2 separate regions of the Homo sapiens genome follow, and region 2 is linked to region 1. Evidence: promoter capture Hi-C in human tissues and cell types (Jung and others, 2019). All regions are on one chromosome and are shown on one strand. The core of a region is centred on a gene start or on the middle of the fragment in contact, and the rest is flanking DNA. Distances in the headings are between cores, read along the strand shown. Region 1 holds the start of SMARCC2 (SWI/SNF related BAF chromatin remodeling complex subunit C2). Region 2 holds the start of APOF (apolipoprotein F).

The links. Contacts are between HindIII fragments. The study calls those that stand out against the background at their distance.
Region 2: the fragment with the promoter of APOF here is called in contact with the fragment with the promoter of SMARCC2 in region 1 in 1 of the 25 tissues and cell types used here (liver).

Annotation. Positions count from the first base shown.
Region 1 is chr12:56,187,919-56,190,860 of GRCh38, forward strand. It overlaps SMARCC2 (SWI/SNF related BAF chromatin remodeling complex subunit C2), which reads right to left and starts at 1,565. Exons shown (of 29, transcript NM_001330288.2): 1 at 1,433-1,565. The coding sequence starts at 1,543. TRS-CGA4-1 (tRNA-Ser (anticodon CGA) 4-1) reads left to right here and starts at 2,446; the gene lies at 2,446-2,527. It overlaps LOC107984468 (a long non-coding RNA gene), which reads left to right and starts at 2,774. Exons shown (of 2, transcript XR_007063330.1): 1 at 2,774-2,942. RefSeq lists silencers at 1,302-1,521, 1,592-1,871 and an enhancer at 2,112-2,211. The HindIII fragment of the contact is 6,976 bases long and covers 1-2,942 here.
Region 2 is chr12:56,361,343-56,364,284 of GRCh38, forward strand. APOF (apolipoprotein F) reads right to left here and starts at 1,515. Exons shown (of 2, transcript NM_001638.4): 1 at 1,388-1,515; 2 at 1-847. The coding sequence starts at 1,403. The HindIII fragment of the contact is 13,203 bases long and covers 1,103-2,942 here.

The DNA of each region.
Region 1 (2,942 bases), core at 315-2,814:
AACTGTATCTGAGACAAGTAACCCTGGCCCTACTTCTATGTTTCCACACTCTGCTACCTAGTAGCATCCTAGCCTTCCATTCTAATTTGAACCTGAGCCAGGAGACTTTCTTTTTACTTTTTGACCCGTTTTCTCCCCACTCATCACAAAGAAGACAGTGCCTCTCAGTGAGAGGTGAAAAGAGATAGATCTGTGAAGGGAAAGGTAAATGACAAAGAGCTAAGAGCATGGAAGCTGAACCAGGTCACAACTGTCAATTCCCCCAAGGCCGGAGGCTAAGCCCCTAGCCTGATCTCCCTGCAAAAGGTCAAAGGTAGAAGCCTGGGAATAAGAGCCTCTCACAGGCGTAGAGACATGCCATAGAAATAGCAGCTATTTGTCAGGATTCTCACACCCAGAGAGACCCCAAGGGCAGGGCCAGGCTCACAACCAGCATCAGTAGGAAGTTCTCCTAAGCCACTAAGCACACTTCTGACGAGCTGCAAAGCCGGCAGGAAGAACTGGGGAGCTGAAAGAAAGCCATAAAGAGAATCCCTCTCTGAGGGTAGTGAGAAAAAGAGAGGCAGACCATTTCCAGAGAAAACCAGGCCTAGAGACAAAGACGACACCAGGAAGAGGTTTGGTAGAAAAGACAGGTAAGGATTCTTGAACCTTTTGTTCACCACCTTATGATCTCCAGTTATGGGGTTTGGGTGTGAGGGGCTAGAGATAGGAAGCTCACCCTAACCTCTCGACCCCAAACCCAGGGTACTGCAAAGCTAGGTTGCAAGGTGACTTCATTGTAAAATCGAGGAAAGGTTTCGGAAGGGGCCGCTACCCAGGAACTCCTATACCCCGGCTCCCTGAGAGATTCTGTTGCCCCTTAGATGAAGGTGGGGGATGAGCGGCGGAGACAGGTGATCCCTGGGTGGAGACCTTTTTCAGGCTGATGAGCAGCCAACGGCTTGCTCTGTGACTGTTTACCCTCCTGCTTTCCATTCTCTCTCTCTGAACATACACAAAGCACCGGAGAGGCCTCAGCCCCGCTGGTACCTGGCTCCGTGGGGAGCTCTGGCGGGCACGCTCCGGGTTGCGGGGGAGCCCATTGGGCACCCGGTCCACACCCGGCCGGCCGCCTCTCCCAGAAAAGCCAGGAGGGCGATGGCTGAGGGGAAGGTGGGCTAATGGCACCGGGGCCCGCCGGGCAGTAGAGAAAAACAAGGGGCAGAGGGCGCAGCAGTGGGGGCGGGGGCTGGGCTCAGAGGCTGGGGGTGCGGGGAGAGGGAGGCTGGGGGAGGGGCGCGGGAGCGCAGGAGGGCGCGCGGGGGGCTGCTTGGGAGGCCGCGGGGGAGGGGCTGGGGCGCCTGGAGGGTAGGCAGGATCCCGGGGCTGCAGGGCCGCGGTCCCTTTGTCCCGCCCCCGGTCCCCGCGCGGCCCGGCCCGGCCCGCGTACCTTCTTGTAGTTCTTGCCGAGCCACAGCCGCACGTTGTCGAACTGGGTCACGGTGTCCGCGGCCTCGTAGTACTTCACGTTGGGGCCGCCGTCCTTCTTCCGCACCGCCATCTTCTCCGGCTCGGGCCCCGCCGCCGCCCGCCCCACTCAGCTCAGCTCCCGCCTCCTCCGCCTCCTCCTCCGCCCGCCTCCCGCCGCCTCCCGCCGCCGCGGCCGCCGCCTCCCGCCGCCTGGGCCGGCCCCGGTCCGCGCTGCGCCCCCTGCCGGCAGGCCGGGCGCGGCGGCGGAGCTCCAGGCGCGGGCCGACCCTGGCGGCCTCCCCGGCAGCGGAGGCGGGAGCCTCCGGGGAGAAGGACGCTTCCTGGAGGGGGCGCCATTCTCCTGAGATCGCTCTTACCAGACGCGAAGCCCTTTCCCTCTTTTTGCCTCAGCTCGGGAGTGTCACCTCGCTATCCCACTCCAGGCGGCCGCCAGTCGCTGGAGCAGCCCCAACCCGTAGACCCGAGTGGTCCTCACCTTGCGCATTCCTAACCCGACGAAGCCCCTCGTCCCCCAAAACCCCAAACCCCTTTCCCCAAGAAGTTCCTTCCTTCCATCCATTCACAGCAGCTCCCCATTTAAACTTTTCAGAGTCTCCCTCACTCCTCGCGCCTTGTCCACCCAGCACTCCCCTCACTTGTTAACCCAAATGTCCCCTAGTCGCCACCCTGGCGGCCCAGTGCCTTCCCTCAACTGCTTCCTCCGCAGGCCTCGCTGTCGCCTCCTAAGTAGGTGTGAGCTCCTACTCGAGACCCCGACTCTTCGCTAGGCAGGAGACCCTCCCTCCCTGGGTCACCCAGTCCATCCGACTCTTTTTCTTTGGGTGGCGTAGATAGGAGGTAAGGAACCGAGGGGTGGGGAGTCCTCAGGTGTGTGTGTGTCGGGGCCGGTACCCTGCTTCCGGTTCCCGCACGCATTCCCGGATTGCAGTGCGGACCCCTTCTGTAAGCGCGCGATAAAGCGCGGTTTTGGAAGTCACGGTGGCCGAGTGGTTAAGGCGTTGGACTCGAAATCCAATGGGGTTTCCCCGCACAGGTTCGAATCCTGTTCGTGACGGGTTTTTTTTTTTTTTCTTTCTTCTTCTTATTATTAAAAGGGAGTCTCGCTCTGTTGCTCAGGCTGGAGTGCAGTGGCGCGATCTCGGCTCACCGCAACCTCCGCTTCCCGGGTTCAAGCAATTCTCCTGCCTTAGCTTCCCGAGTAGCTGGGACCACAGGCATGCGTCACCATACCTGGCTAATTTTTGTATTTTTAGTAGAGACAGGTTCACCATATTGGCCAGGCTGGTCTCAAACTCCTGACCTCAGGTTATCTGCCCGCCTCGGCCTCCCAAAATGCTGGGATTACAGGCGTCGACTTTTTTAACCCCTTTCACAGCACATAAAGGTAACCCCAGTTCTCACACGTTTCTTTCGTGCACTTTCTCTCTCCAAAAGGGAAGCCGCCAAAAGGTCTTAACCCCTGGATTTGG
Region 2 (2,942 bases), core at 265-2,764, 170 kb after region 1:
TCCAAGTCACTCACATCTGAGATGGCCCTCAAACCCTCCTTGGTGGTCTCCGGCTGAGAGATGTTTGCGTCTTTCTGATCTTGGTAATACTGGATCAACTGCTGAACCCCAGACCTTAATGCAGGTTTAAGTGCAGCACTGATCGCTAGACCCATAGGCCCCCCTGACATCCCAGCCATGGTCATCAGAAGGTCATATCCCAGATCTATGGCCCCATCTCGGCCTCGTTCCCTGGCCTTGCCCAGGCAGTTTTGAGTAGCATAATACAAAGCTGTGCCCAGGTTGTAGAAGGTTCCCACTCCTGGCAGCAGCTGGACTACATTGTGCACAGCTTGCTCCTTCTCATTCTCACAGTCCTCTGTCGGGAGGGAGCGCCCGACCCTTCCTGTGCTTTGCTGCTCCCTGGCTAACAGCTGCAGAGCAGAGGCCAGGGCTTCCACTGACACGTTCCTCTCTGTGCTTCTGCCTTTCTGGAGCCCTCGAAGATGCTGGATGAGGACCTGTGTAGCATTCACACCACCCTGGCGGTAGAGCTGTAGCTGTAGAGCCCAAACATCAGCCTGACAACCAGCTTCCTCCAGGGCATTCCTTAGAGCCAGGCTTACCAAGAACTTGGGTAGAGGGGCCATGTGGCTGAAACCAGGCAGTGACTTTGGGTGCAGAAATTGGCAGGACAAGGGGTCTGAGGAGGGTGTCTGGGATTCCAAGGACAAGGGAAAGTGCATCAAGACATTTGTCTGCTTTCCATATGAAGTGGCATCCACAGGGTGCAGCAGGAGGTAGCAAAGTAGCAGCTCAACTGGTATCATGATGAGTCTGAGGCCACGCATGTCTGGAGCAGAGTACCCTAGAAAGGGGAGAAATCCGAAACATACAAACCATTTCCCTAAGGGCGATGGTGAGCCCAAGACTCAGTTAGGGGGACACCTCATACATCACCTGCTTCCAAGCTTTTGTACTTTCTTTTTAGAGACAGGGTCTTGCTCTGTTGCCCAGACTAGAGTGCAGTGATGGGATCACAAATCACTGCTGCCTTGAATTCCTGGGCTCGAGGGATCCTCCTGCCTCAGCCTCCCAAGCAGCTGGGACTACAGGTGCGTGACACCATGCCCAGCTAATTTTTAAATTTTTTGTAGAGACGTGGTTTTGCCATCTGGCCCAGCCTAGTTCTGAACTTTGGGCTCAAGTGATCCTTCCACCTCCGCCTCCCAAAGTGATAGGCTTCCAGATGTGAGCCACCGCGCCTGGCCCCAAGCTTCTGTTCTTTTTAGGTAAAGGCCTAGGAAATAGGAAATGCACCCCAGTTGCTCCCACTTGGTCTCCCCCATTTACAGGTCACCAGGGACTTCTGTTTTATTTCCACCCATATATAGGGACCCCAAATTACCACACAGTCCAGTCATTGAGAAGTGAGACTGCCTTGGTAGGTTTGATCGCTTCCTGATCCTGTTCTGCCTAGTTCTGTGTCCCATGAGGAAAGGAGATATTTGCTTTCCCCTATGATCAGTGAAGGATGTAATCTCTGCAAATATTTGCCCATTTATACTGGCTGCTCAAACCTTGTGCCCCTTGTCACACACTCAACCTCTATGCCTACAGTCCTGTTCTTTGGCATTTCCTGTATGTCCCTGCCACATTCCCACTCTAAGCTCATGATAGGAGCCAGGGAAATTCAGAATTAGGAAAGATGAGATGTTTGTGATACTCTCATTTCTCTTCATTTTAAAAATTAAATTAGCGGCTGAGCATGGTGGCTCACGCCTGTAATCCCAGCACTTTGGGAGGCCAAGGCGGGCGGATCACAAGGTCAGGAGTTCGAGACCAGCCTGGCCAATATGGTGAAACCCTGTCTCTACTAAAAAAAAAAAAATATATATATATATATATATATATATACACCCAGGCGTGGTGGTGGGCGTCTGTAGTCCCAGCTACTCAGGAGGCTGAGGCAGGAGAATTGCTTGAACCCGGGAGGTGGAGGTTGCAGTAAGCCAAGATCGCACTACTGCACTCCAGCCTGGGTGACAGAGTGAGACTCCGTCTTAAAAAAAAAAAAGGAGGGGAGCTGACACCTACTAAGTGGAGAGGGGCAAGGCTAACACTGGTCACATATGTGTTTAAGGGAAGAGGTGAAATAAAGAGCATTCATCTGTCCTAAGTGGTCTCCAACATTTCTAACTACTTACTGTGTGCCATCCTTGAATACAGTCCTGGGAAAGGAGACTCATTACTTATGTGATATTGAATAGCTGAAATGAGCCGGGATCAATTCCTGGATCATTTTCCTCACAAAGCACTTCAGAATAGCTGTGGAACATTTGATAGATTATATTGTCACTGTCCATGGACAATTTAAATGATCTTGAGAGCTTCTTCAACTTTTTGCCTAATTCTTCAATATGCTCCCAAGACTCATACCTGCAGTTCTTGGTGATGTGGACACCCAAAACTTTGAACTGTGACACCAAGCATCATGGGAGATGGTTTCTCAGCAAACTCAATCACCATCTGAGCTACCTGGTAGGCCAGCTACCCCAGTGGGTATATTTGCCACCATCCATACATTTCCCAGGATGGGCAGCTGGGTGCTGGGTTTATTCACACTTCCCTAAGGGACTACTAGATTCGTCACAATGATGTTGGTATTGCCTTCCTCCCCATTGAACTTTTTGACTCTCACGGATGAGGGTTTCAGTGGTATCCTTTCCTCGCATCTGAAACTGCAGAACATGGGCCTCAGTTGGGCAGCCCACCTCCTCCAAGGGCACCCTCAGAGCTAAGTTGGACAGGTACTCAGGCAGAGGGGCTAGGGAGGGGGCTGTGTGTAAGAGATCTTGGCAGATCCTGGGATCTGGGAGAGGAATCTGGCTCTCCATGTTCTCCAAATAATGGAGAGCATGTTTGATGGATGCCCAGTCTCTGTTAAAGATGGCTGGAGGGTC